2 separate regions of the Homo sapiens genome follow, and region 2 is linked to region 1. Evidence: promoter capture Hi-C in human tissues and cell types (Jung and others, 2019). All regions are on one chromosome and are shown on one strand. The core of a region is centred on a gene start or on the middle of the fragment in contact, and the rest is flanking DNA. Distances in the headings are between cores, read along the strand shown. Region 1 holds the start of SPIN1 (spindlin 1). Region 2 has its middle 57 kb from the start of SPIN1.

Region 1 (6,754 bases), core at 2,644-5,143:
GAAACTGCAAAGAAATTAACTATATGCCAGGGTTGGTGGTGCATGCTTGTAGCCCCAGCTATTCAGGAAGCCAAGGTGAAGGATGGACAGTTCAAGCCAGGCCTGGGCGAAATAGCAAGACTCCTTCTCCAAAATATAACAAAAGCAAAATAAAAGAAATTTGCTATATAGGTAAGTTTCTCAAAACATTTCATTAGCAAGTTGGAGGACAGCAGGAGCTGCCTGGCAAGTTGAATCAATGGTCTTAGTATCCTAGAAATTCATAAATTAACTTGAATTCTATTTTTCCAATTTTTTATTTTGAAAAGTTCGTTTTCCAGAAAAGTTGAAAAAACTGCACAATAACACACCTAGACTCATCACTTAGATCCACCAACTATTAACAGTTTGTTACATTTGCTTTACCTCCATATAAAATACATCAGTCTCTGAGGCATTTATATGTCAGTTGTAGCCATCAGGTCTCTTGTCTAATGATTCAGCACTAACATCCTAAGAACTAGGGCATTCTTGTAAATAGCCACTGTCACACTGAAAAATCTAATGATGATACAATAATACTGTCTAATATATAGTCCATATATAACTACAAAGTTCCCCAGTTGTCCCTCAAATCTCTCTCACAGCTTTTTTGCCTTCAATGCAGTGCTGCATCAGGGGTCACTTAATGGACCAACCCAGTTGTGTTATCTGTCTGGACCAATTCCCTAGCTTGACTTTTTTTAGAGTGTAGTGCAGGGAAATTGTTTTGCTGAATGTCTTCCAACCTGGATTTTTCTTATTTTTTTTTCCAACTTTGATTAGATTCACTTAAACATTTTTGGCAGCTATACATGGGTAATATAAAAACCCATTTGTGACATTCTAATGAGCTAATTAGCAAGGCCTTAGATGCAGCTGAGATATGTACCACTCTAGAGTGTGACCTTTACTGATATAGGGCTGGGTGACATTACTGGACTGTGCATTCTTTTATTTTTAATTTTTTTTTTTTGAGATGGAGTCTCACTCTTGTTGTCCAGGCTGGAGTGCAGTGGTGCAATCTCGGCTCACTGTAACCCCTGCCTCCTGGGTTCAAGCGATTCTCCTGCCTCAGCCTCCTAAATAGCTCGGATTACTGGTGCCTGCCACCACGGCTGGCTAATTTTTATATTTTTAGTAGAAATGGGGTTTCACCACGTTGGCCAGGCTGGTCTAGAACTCCTGACCTCAAGTGATCTGCCTGCCTCGGCCTCCCAAAGTGCTGGGATTACAGGCGTGAGCCATTGCAGCTGGCCGGCCTTTGTTTCATTTTAAAAAATTTTATTTATTTATTGTACAGTTGGGGTCTTGCTATGTTGCCCAGGCTGGTCCTGAACTCCTGGGCTCAAGCCATCCTACCACCTTGGCCTCCCAAAGTGCCGGTATTACAGGCATGAGCCACAATCCTGTGTATTTTTTTTTGAGATGGAGTTTGACTCCGTCACCCAGGCTGGAGTGCAGTGGCACAGTCTCGACTCACTGCAAACCCTGCCTCCTGGGTTCAAGCGATTCTCCTGCCTCAGTCTCTGGAGCAGCTGGGATTACAGGCGTGCACCACCACGCCTCGCTAATTTTTGTATTTTTAGCAGAGATGGGGTTTCACTGTGTTGGCCAGGCTGGTCTCAAACTCCTGACCTCAAGTGATCCACTTGCCTCGGCCTCCCAAAGTGCTGGGATTACAGGTGAGAGCCACTGTTCTTGGCCTTTTTAAAATTTTTTAAAATTTTATTTATTTTAGAGTTGGGGTCTTGCTATGTTGCCCAGGCTGGTCTCAAACTCCTGGGCTCAAGCCATCCTCCAGCCTCAGCCTCCCAAAGTGTTGGGATTACAGGTGTAAACCACAGTCCTGTGTATTCTCAATAGCTCCCAATGAGATCATCACCAGTGGCAAATTTTAAATCAGGGGTTGGGGATGGAGATGAAGGTGGGGCCACATATTTGACTTTGAAGACGTTTTCCGTGAATTTTGGAGGAGTGTGTGTGCTACTGGCATCTAGTGGGTGGAGGCCAGGGATGCTGTCAAACATCCTACAAAGCATGGAACAGACCCCACATGAAAGGATTATCCCATCCCAAAAGCCAACACTGCTGAGGTGGAGAAACCCAGGGATCTCGCCAATGAGATGAAATCTTCCAACCAGCAGACTTCTTGGCACCTACCTTCTTCCCATCCCTCTTTGTTTCGGAGATGACCCCACTGCAAGACATTAAACAGGCCAGGCGCGGTGGCTCACGCCTGTAATCCTAGCACTTCAGGAGGCCGAGGCCAGCGGATTGCTGGAGGCCAGGAGTTTGAGACCGGCCTGGCCAACATGGCGAAACCCCGTCTCTACTAAAAATATTTTTAAAAATTAGCTGGACATGGTGGTGCGCGCCTGTAATCCCAGCTACTCGGGAGGCTGAAATGTGAGGATTGCTTGAACCCAGGAAGCGGAGGTTGCAGTGGGCCGAGATCATGCCACTGCACTGCAGCCTGGGGAACAGAGTGAGACTCCGTCTAAAAAAACAAAAAAGACATTAAACACACAAATGAAAGTGAGTAATTTCTCAACACTTGGTAACTTGTAAGTACAGCGATACACTTTTATATCTCAGTTTTGAAATTAGCTCTCTAGTTGGCCTGTGAACGTCCCATGCCTGCCAAGTGTGTCATCTGAGACAAGCACTTCAATTTGTTTGAGCAGGCATCTATCAATCTTATTTGTTAGAAAAGGTGCCAGTGAAACCCCAAAGAGTATTGCTAACTAATAACTGTGCTGCAGTTTAGAGTGTTCAAGGTGCTTTCCAGTAACATGTTCTGGAATTTGATCTGACAACGCTTTGGGAGGCGGTTTATTACGATGAGGCTGCGCTGTCGCACTCGAGGAACCAGGTCAGTGACCTGCTCCAGGACACGGGACTGGCGGGGAGGGGAGAGCGCCTGGACTCAGCCTCCAAGTCTCGCACTCGACTCTGCAGGAGTAAAAACTATTCTTGATCCTACCTCTCTCCCTTCTGCAAACAAGCAACAAAATGCTGAAAAGGCATCTTAACTGAAACGGAAGTCAAATGAATTCGCGTGCGATCATGGGAATTTTTGGCTCCTAACCTTGCGAGTAGAGCTGGGTGAGTTCCATTTGTGGTGGGGGAGTGGAAACAGGTTTCTGGGCTTGCAGAAGCCACATCCCGTCCCCACACAACCTAGGACAGGCCAGGTACTTGTAGGTGAGGCTCCGGGGCTCCAGCTAACCTGAGCTACCTGGGCTGGGCTTTGTGCGGGGAGGCAGCAAGCGGGGTGAGCCGGCGACGACGCCGGCCTCTACGCAGTGCGGTGGTGAAGACGTCTCTTCCAGGGAGTCACAGGAAGCAAATCCATCCTTTTAAAGGGCTCGCGTCCCGCGGCCCTGAACCGGCGCGCTGGAGCAGTAATGCGACGTTCTCCGAGGTTCAAGGCTCACGGCCCAGCCCTGTGATCCAGTTTCCTCAGTCTTCGCGGTGTGCACCACTCAGGACGACTTGCGGCTTACGTCCAGGACAAAGGGGGCTTGTCCTTTCTTCAACGTCCTACTGCGCAAAAACGAAGCCCTTCTCAGGCTGCCTGCCTTCCAGGAAAAGCTGCGCCCCCTCAGGAACCTGTGCCCCGCGCGCCTGCCGCCGCCCATTCCCGGCGCGCACCTGGCAGTCCCGGGCTCGAGCCCCGCCCTGCCGCCAGCCAGGTGAGAGGGGCCAGGCCCCGCCCTCGCCGGCCCCGCCCCGCCCCACTGCGCCTGCGCAGTCGGCCGTCGGCGCCAGGCGCCGGGGCGGCGCGGCCGTCGCAGTTCGGCGGGCGCAGTGCGCGTGCGCCCTGACTGTTGGGGGGCGGGCGGCGTCCGCGGCGAGGGAGCGGGGGCGGGGAGGCGCCGTCTGGCTCAGGCTGGGGCCGGCGGGAGCGCGAACGAGCGACGGCGGAACCCGTGGGCCTGTGGACTGCAGCCTCGGCGGTCAGCAGGTGAGGCCCGCGCAGGGCGGGCGTGGGTCGTGAGGGAGTGCGGGCTGCGGGCGGGCCAGCGGTGCGGCGGTCTGCCCGGGGGCGCAGGTGAGCGCGGCCCGCGCGGGGCCCGGCGGAGCATTGTCCAGCGGGCGGCGCCCGCATAGCGCCCCCTGCCGGCTGGGCCGCGGCGGGGACCCGGGCTGGGCGGGCCTGGGCCTCGGGGCGGGCGCGCGCTCCTTTGTTCGCCGGCCCCTACTCCTCCGTGCCCCCATCCCCGCCGCCCCCCGCCAACATGGCCGCCACCCTCTCGTCCCCAGTTCCCCGGCCGCCGCCGGCCCCTTAGCGCGCGCTTTGTTTGGAGCCGGGCGGGGAGGCCGGCGGGCAGGGGGCGGCGGCGCTGCGCAGTCGGGCGCGGGGAGGGGGCGCTGCGCCAGAATGCAGGCGGGGAGGGGGAACGTTGCATAATCCCGGGCCGGCGACGGGGGCGGGGCGGGGGGAGGGGCGGGACCCCGGCGCGACGGGTCGGGTCACCCCGGGGACGCGGGCCTGCCCTGGGGCCACCCCTCCCAGGCCCGGGGGATGGCCGCGGACCTTGTAAGTTGCAGGCTCCGCGGTTCGCGGCGCCGGAACGCCCACCGGCCAGTCCTCGCGCCCGCGCAGCCCCTTTCCTGATGCGCCGTCTCTTCGCCGCCCTCCGTGGGGGCGCGGCGAACGGGTTGCGTGCTCTGGAGAGAGACAGGCACTTTTCCTCTCCATCGTGAGTGACCTTGGGTGTATTCGTCAAGGAATGTGTTGAAACGAATTGTGCGATGCGGGAACTGCGCAGCGCCTCGGGTTTGGCTTTCTCGAGCATTTTATTGCATTGATTGTGCGTTCTCGATTTTACAGAGGTTCGTTTTGAGTAATGGCTTCAGTAATGTCATCGTATACGCATTTCAAAGTTTGTTTATGGAATTGTTTTTACATTTATTCTCTTTTTACTTATAATTTTTGAATCAGATTTTGTGTTTTGGAGAGATTTTCCGTACGTGGTGGAAGTGTTTTCACTCATGGTAAATATGGATTGTTTGGCAATTTTATCACGTTAATCACAAAACAATACCAGGAACATTTAAATGTCTTAAAGGATTTCACTCTACATGACTTGTGCCAGAGACGACACACGTACCAAAACGCGATTACCTGTCTTAACTTTTTTTCTATTGGAATTTTCTGGAAGGAATTCCATGCAATCCGAAAGGATTAATGGAGGGTACAGTAATTGCTTTCTACATCGCTTTTGTTAAGCAGTGAAAATTAAACTTGGAGATTTATACCTGGATATACTGAGTTTTTTTTAACACTCTTTTGAAGTGAAATTTTGGAAAGGGCAGGTGAAATGAGGCTTCTTCCAACCTCCCCACTCTCCCCCCTCAGCTTTAGTTAAAAGGCAAACACCAAAATATTGTAGTACCTGGTAATTTACAGAACGTTCGTTATCAGATTTGATAATTATATATTAAGGTTGTAAAGAATGTGTATGCCAGAATTATAGGTAGTAGATCCTAGATTCTTAGGAAAAATAGTTTCTTTATAATCTTTTGAGTAGTGAAATGGTTACTTTTACAATGGTTATGAACTGGGTCAAGGCAAAAGGGCCACTATATGTCTTCAGTCATCTTTCTATGCCTGAAATCCAGGAAACAGTGAAAATGGATGTTCCCTGGAACAGCCATTGCGATGCCATATGTTGGTCATTGGTGTCCTTAAAGTGTATCTCAGATAATTGTGTGTCTCCCTTACTTGTGAACTGAGGGGTCACAATATTGATGTGCCTGATGTGTGCCCCTCTGCATTTCGTGGGTAGTGTCTCAAATTTGGCTATCATATTGATGAGAGTTACTAATTTGGTTTTAGCTGCCAGAGGTTTAGGTGGTTTTCACTTCCAGTGACTTACCTGATTGCACATAGTTACAACGTTACTGGTTGCACTCCTTCATTGCTAGCATCTTTTTTCTAGTATATTCGATATACATTCTTTTGGTTTATCCTTTAAAATATTTGCTGAGATAGCATTTAAATGTTAATGCTGTATTTATATTTGTTGGATGCTTAATTCAATGTGTCTTCTTTCCCTTTCCATGAATGAAAAGAAATTGGAAGAAGAGAATCAACTATTTCGTGCAAGTATTTTGTTCAGTTTAGAAGATGTTATGGTATTGTGAAAACAATATTCTGGAGTTAGACATGGAATCACAATGGCCTTCCAAGTCAGAACAGTCTGGGTTGAAATTGACTCCTTACTGGTCCAAAGCCACATAACTGATTCATCATGCAGCCTTTTTTTAAAAAAAGTTTTTTTTTAAAGCTACTCAAATATGTCAGTTTTATTTTCTCTGTACACACATTTGTTACTGAAAATTGCAAAAACAGCACATTGAAGGTCCTCTTATTGGAGTTCACATTTTTGAAAACCAGAAAATTTAATAATTATGCTCTTGCCAAACTACCCACTGTTTTCTTTATATTCTTGCCCCACAAGTTGCTTTACTTGAACTCTTGGGTTGGGCTTCATCTCACTGACTTCAGGCTTCTAACACACATAGGACACTTAGGACCTACTGGCTCTTTGGGTCACATCAGGGAGGAGAGCTGAAGTATGTTGAAGTTACTCAAATACATTCAAGCTACATAGATCTCTGATAAATTATTGGTGGTATGGTAGAAATGAAAATATACCCAAAAAAATCACAGAACTGTTTATTAAAATTATTGGTATACAGGCTCTTCTAACATAGATTAGCT
Region 2 (6,754 bases), core at 2,783-5,282, 56 kb before region 1:
CAACGACATTAAAGTGATTTAATGGCCGGGTGCGGTGGCTCACACCTGTAATCCCAGCACTTTGGGAGGCTGAGGTGGGAGTTTGAGATCAGCCTGGGCAACACAGTGAAACCCTGTCTCTACCAAAAAAAAAAATACAAAAAATTAGCTGGGTGTGGTGGCATACCCCTGTAGTTGCAACTACTTGGGGTGCTGAGGTGGGAAGATTGAAAGAAAGAAAGAGAGGGAGGGAGGGAGGGAGGGAAGGAAGGAAGGAAGGGAAGGAGGGAAGGAAAAAAAGAAAGAGAAAGAAAGAGAGAGAGAGGAAGGAAGGGGGGGAGACAGAGAAAGAAGAAAGAAAGAAAGAAAGAGAAAGAAAGGAAGAAAGAAGGAAAGAAAAGAAAATGGAGAGACAGAGGCAAGAGTCAAGAAATTTGTCCCAGCAGGTGGAAGACTTTGGATGAAAAATGGGATGAATGTGACAAACACTGACGGTGCTAAACAAAGGTGTTGATGCAGCACTATCAAAACCAATGGGACCTCCTACTCATACCCTACCTTAAATGGCCCTGTCTTCAGGGCCGGGCGTGGTGGCTCACGCCTGTAATCCCAGCACTTTGGGAGGCCAAGGTGGGTGGATCATCTGAGGTAGGGAGTTCGATACCAGCCTGACCAACAAGGAGAAACCCCGTCTCTACTAAAAATACAAAATTAGCCAGGCCTGGTGGCGCATGCTTGTAATCCCAGGTACTTGGGAGGCTGAGGCAGGAGAATCATTTGAATCTGGGAGGCGGAGTTGGCAGTGAACCAAGATGGCGCCATTGCACTCCAGCCTGGGCAGCAAGAGTGAAACATCATCTCACACACACACACAAAAGGGCCTTGTCTTTGTTTGTTCTGCTCTAAGGGTGTCTACAATGAGTCAAAAATCTGTAAAATATTTGAAGATAGTTACTCTGAGGCGAATATGAGTGACCAATGGCCCACGACACAGCCCTTAGGAGACCCTGAGAGCGTGTGCCCAAGGTGGTCAAGGCACAACCTAGTTTTACACATTTAAGGGAGACATGAGACATCAATCAAATACATGTAGGATATGCATTGGTTCAGTCTGGAAAGGCAGGACAAGTGGTTGAAAGAGTTAAGTTATTATCTAACGACCTGGAATGAATAGAAAGGAATGTTTGATAAAGGAATGATAAGGGGTTGTAGAGACCAAAGTTGTACCATGCAGATAAAGCCTCCAGGTAGCAGGCTTCAGTGAGAACAGACTGTAAAGGTTTCTTATTATACTTAAGATCTGTGTTGATCTTAAATGCTGGTCAGCTTTTCCTGAATCCCAAAAGACGGCAGGGTGAGGGTGTAATGAGGTATGTTCAACCCTCCCTTCCTGTCATGGCCTGAGACAACTTTGGAAAGTCCTTGGCTGAAAGGAAGGGTCCATTCAGATGGTTGGCGGGAGGGGTGGGGAGGCTTAGAATTTTGCTTTTGGTTTACAATAGAATACCACAGACTAGTTAATTTATAAAGAACAAAATTGGCTCACGTCTGTAATCCCAGCACTTTGGGAGGCAGAGGCAGGTGGCACCTGAGGTCAGGAGTTCGAGACCAGCCTGGCCAACGTGGTAGAACCCTATCTCTACCAAATATACAAAAAATTAGCCAGGCGTGGTGGTGGGCACCTGTAATCCCAGCTACTCGGGAGGCTGAGGCAGGAGAATTGCTTGAACCTGAGAGGTGGAAGTTGCAGTGAGCCGAGATGGCGCCATTGCACTCCAGCCTGGGCAACAAGAGCAAAATTCTGTCTAAAAAAAAACAAAAACAAAAACAAAACAGAACAAAATTGAATTTCATACAGTTCTGGAGGTTGAGAAGTCCAAGTTCAAGGGGCTGCATCTTGTGAGGGCCTCCTTGCTGCTTCATCCCATGGCAGAAGGTGGAAGAGCAAGAGAGTACCCAGGAGCAAGCAAGGGGAAGCAGGCTGGACTCATTCTTTTATCAGGAGCCCATTCCTGCAATAACAGCATTCATCCATTCATAAAGGCAGAGCCCTCATGACCTAATCACCTCTTATGGGTTCCACCTCCCAACGCTGCTGCATTGAGGATTAAGTTTCCAACACATAAATTTTGGGGAACACATTCACAACATAGCACAGTCAAATCAATAATTTTTATAAAACTCAAGACTGAAACCTATCTGATATTGTTTGGACTTGTGTCCCCGCCCGAATCTCATGCAAATTGTAATCCCCAGTGTGAGAGGAGGGGCCTGGTGAGAGGTGATTGGACTGTTGGGGCAGACATTCCCCCTTGCTATTCTGGTGATAGTGAGTTCTCACGAGATTTGGTTGTCTAAAAGTGTGTAGCACCTCCCCTGTCGTCCGTTTCCTCCTGCTCCAGCCATGTAGGTCATGCCTGCTTCCCTTTCACCTTCTGCCATGATTGTAAGTTTCCTGAGGCCTCCCCAGCCATGCTCACTATAGAGCCTGCAGAACCATGAGCCAATTCAACCTCTTTTCTTTATAAATTACCCAGTCTCAGGTAGTTCTTTATAGCAATGCAAGAATGAACTAATACACTACCCAGTCATTCGTTGCACAAATATGGATGAATATGGGTTGAAATACTTTGCTGGAGGGGGAGCATGCCCGATCCATGCGCCATGGAGCTTTGATGCAGGGCCAAGCTTGTGATAGATGGCTGGAATGTGAAGTCAAGAGAGCTCTAGGCACCCACCAGGAAGGTCTGGCCCTGCCTGGGCATCAAAAAAAGCTGCCTTGATAAAGTGGTGGTTACGCTGAGGTCTAAAGGACTAACAGGGCTAAGAAGGGGAAGAGGAGCAAAAGGCCATTCCAGGTGTCCTGAAAGCACTTGCAGCTTTTTTTTTTTTTTTTTTTTTTTTTGAGACGGAGTTTCGCTCTTTTTGCCCAGGCTGGAGTGCAATGGTGCGATCTCGGCTCACTGCAACCTCCGCCTCCCAGGTTCAAGCGATTCTCCTGCCTCAGCCTCCCAAGTAGCTGGCATTACAGGCATGCACCACCACCCAGGCTAATTTTGTATTTTTAGTAGACACGGGGTTTCTCCATGTTGGTCAGGCTGGTCTTGAACTCCTGATCTCAGGTGTTCCACCCACCTCTGCCTCCCAAAGTGCTGGGATTACAGGCGCGAGCCACCGCGCCCGGCCAGCACTTGTAGCTTAAAAAAAAAAACCATTTCTGAGAAGCTAACTCTGGGATATGAAGCCAGAAGAGAAGTTATTGAATAAAATGAGAAACTGGCCGGCAAGGTGGCTCACTCCTGTAATCCCAGTACTTTGGGAGGCCGAGGCAGGCGGATCACTTGAGGCCAGGAGTTCAAGACCAGCCTGGCCAACATAGTGAAAACCGTCTCTACTAAAAATACAAAAATTAACCAAGCACGGTGTTGGGCGCCTGTAATCCCAGCTACTCAAGAGGCTGAGGCAGGAGAATCGCTTGAACCTGGGAGGCAGAGATTGCAGTGAGCCGAGATCACGCCACTGCACTCCAACCTGGGCAACAGAGCAAGACCCTGTCTCAAGAAGAAAAAAAAAAGAAATTTTTGATTATGAATAGGCACATTGTCAGACTACTCAAGAATTAGTGATGCCATTTCCATGCCTTAGAAGAGATTTATTCACAGGATCCTGGGCACAGCATGCGGATTGGGTTTCATCCCCACAGTGAGCAATCTGGTAGATTCCACACTTCTACTATCCTGAAGGTTACGTTTTATCTAAGATTGGTACTCTTTTTGTAATTGCTAAAACACAATATTCAACTGCTTTTGAGTAGCTAGGTAGCTTCATACAAGATAAATTTCCTCTATCTCAATAAACAGACTGAATTTTATATCGTTTGGAAATGTTTTTGCCCCAAGATTCTATGGACATTTTTGTCACATGCGTCCGGGTGAAGACACCACCAAACAGGCTTTGTGTGAGTAACAAGGCTGTTTATTTCACCTGGGTGCAGACGGGCTGAGTCCGAAAGGAGAGTCAGCAAAGGGTGGTGGGATTATCATTGGTTCTTTTTCTTTTTTGGAGATGGAGTCTCGCTCTGTCACCCAGGCTGGAGTGCACTGGCGCAGTCTCAGCTCACTGCAAGCTCCGCCTCCCGGGTTCACGCCATTCTCCTGTCTCACCCTCCCGAGTAGCTGGGACTACAGGCACCCGCCACCACGCCCAGCTAAATTTTTGTATTTTTACTAGAGACGGGGTTTCACTGTGTTAGCCAGGATGGTCTCGATCTTCTGAACTCGTGATCTGGCTGCCTCGGCCTCCCAAAGTGCTGGGATTACAGGCCTGAGCCATCGTGCCCCCCTGATTATCATTAGTTCTTATAGGTTTTGGGATAGGTGGTGGGGTTAGGAGCAATGTTTTGTGGGCAGGGGGTGGATCTCACAAAGTACATTCTCAAGGGTGGGGAGAATTACAAAGAACCTTCTTAAGGGTGGGGGAGATTACAAAGTACATTGATCAGTTAGGGTGGGGCAGGAACAAATCACAGTGTAGGAATGTCATCAGTTAAGGCTATTTTCACTTCTTTTGTGGATCTTCAGTTGCTTCAGGCCATCTGGAGCATATCCTGCAGGTCACAGGGGATATGATGGCTTAGCTTGGGCTCAGAGGCCTGACAATTTTTTTCTCAGAATTTAGAATGTTAACTACAGGAGAAGTTAGAAGCTTTTTATTGCCAAAGAAATATTTTATAATATCTTTTATTTGAATGTATTATTTTATTACAGATGTGCCCATTTGATTTTTGCTGTTTACAGTGACGAGTATATCAGAGTACAAAATTATAATTTTTTTTCTTTTTTGAGACGGAGTCTTGCTCTGTCACCCAGGCTGGAGTGCAGTGGCACAATCTCAGCTCACTGCAAGCTCTGCCTCCCAGGTTCACGCCATTCTCCTGCCTCAGCCTCCCGAGTAGCTGGGGCTACAGGCACCCACCACCAGGCCCAGCTAATTTTTTTGTATTTTTACTAGAGACGGGGTTTCACTGTGTTAGCCAGGATGGTCTCGATCTTCTGACCTCGTGATCTGGCTGCTTCGGCCTCCCGAAGTGCTGGGATTACAGGCCTGAGCCACCGTGCCTGGCTGATTATCATTAGTTCTTATAGGTTTTGGGATAGGAGGTGGAGTTAGGAGCAATGTTTTGCAGGCAGGGGGCGGATCTCCTGAGGTCAGGAATTCGAGACCAGCCTGGCCAGGGTGGTCAGGAGTGGTGGCAGGCGCCTGTAGTCCCAGCTACTCGGGAGGCTGAGACAGGAGAATCGTTTGAACCTGGTAGGCGGAGGTTGCAGTGAGCCGAGATCACACCATTGTACTCCAGCATGGGCAACAGAGTGAGACTCCGTCTCAAAAAAAAAAAAAAGCCAGTGGTTATTGTTTGTTCGAACTATATCTGTCCATCTTATGGAACTTTCCTGTTAGTTCCACTAGTTTTTCCGTTATATAAAATGCATAAATAACCGTCATGCATTTTGTGTGTAAGACAGTCATCTATTTTATTATTCATACTCCCTGGTTTTTTCCCTCCTATTGCATTAAGCCAGCACTTTGGGAGACCTAGGTGGGTGGATCACCTGAGGTCAGGAGTTCAAGACCAGCCTGGCCAACATGGTGAAACCCCGTCTCTACTAAAAATACAAAAATTAGCCAGGTGTGGTGTCAGGCACTTCTAATCCCAGCTACTCAGGAGGCTGAGGCACAATAATCTCTTTAACCTGGGAAGCGCAGGTTGCAATTAGCCAATATTGTGCCCCTGCACTCCAGCCTGGGCAACAGTGCAAGACTCTGTCTCAGCAACAACAATTAGCGGGGCGTGGTAGCACATGCCTGTAATCCCAGCTACTCCGGAGGCCGAGGCAGAATTGCTTGAACCTGGGAGGCAGAGGTTGCAGTGAGCCGAGATCTCACCTCTGCTTTCCAGCCTAGGCGACAAGAGCAAAACTCTGTCTCAAAAAGAAAAGAAAAGAAAAGAAAATAGGCCTGCTGCGGTGGCTCATGTCTGTAATCCCAGCACTTTGGGAGGCCAAGGCAGGCTAATCTATTGAGTCTAGGAGTTTGAGACCCGGCTGGGCAACATAGTGAGGCCCCTACCCTTACAAACAATAAACAAAATTAGCCAGGCATAGTGGCATGCACCTCACCTGTGGTCCCAGAAACTCAGGAAGCTGAAGTGGGAGGATTGCTTGAACCTGGGAGGTCAAGGCTGCAGTCAGCCAAGATCACACCACTACACTCCAGCCTAGGCAAGACCCTGCCCTCTAGCCTGGGAAAGACCTGTCTCAAAAAAAAAAAAAAAAAAAAAAAGAAAGAAAGAAAAGAAAAGAAAAAAGAAAATGAAGGAAAGAAAATCTGCCAGGAAAATGTTGAAGGAGAGGAAGAATGAGAGCACACAATCCTATCACAAGTCAAAGTAGCCAACGGCATTGAAACGAAAATTAGTGGCTTTCGCACTGATGGAGGCAACTCAACAAATGGGAGTTTAGTACATGACAAAGGTCACAGTAATTTTTTATTTATTGTTGGTTTTAAAGCCAGGCTCTTGCTCTGTTGCCCAGGCCTTGACCTCATGTGCTCAAGCAAATCTCCCACCTCAGCCACTGAGTAGATTATAGGTGCACACCACCATGCCCAACTAATTTTGTTTATTTCTTATAGAGACAGGGTCTCACTATGTTGCCCAAGCTGGTCTCGAACTCCTGAGCTCAAGAAATCCTCCCACCTCGCTCTCCCAAAGCGTTGG

Evidence for each region. Contacts are between HindIII fragments. The study calls those that stand out against the background at their distance.
Region 2: a contact is called between a fragment that was not itself captured here and the fragment with the promoter of SPIN1 in region 1, in 1 of the 25 tissues and cell types used here (stomach).

What each region holds. Positions count from the first base shown.
Region 1 is chr9:88,384,551-88,391,304 of GRCh38, forward strand. It overlaps SPIN1 (spindlin 1), which reads left to right and starts at 3,894. Exons shown (of 6, transcript NM_006717.3): 1 at 3,894-3,988. It overlaps LOC124902204 (a long non-coding RNA gene), which reads right to left and starts at 4,649. Exons shown (of 2, transcript XR_007061652.1): 1 at 4,562-4,649; 2 at 278-3,567. RefSeq lists an enhancer at 2,710-3,569 and a silencer at 3,647-4,546. The HindIII fragment of the contact is 12,466 bases long and covers 1-6,754 here.
Region 2 is chr9:88,328,356-88,335,109 of GRCh38, forward strand. No RefSeq gene overlaps it. Among named protein-coding and RNA genes, the nearest start is that of SPIN1, 57 kb to the right of the region's middle. The HindIII fragment of the contact is 6,357 bases long and covers 855-6,754 here.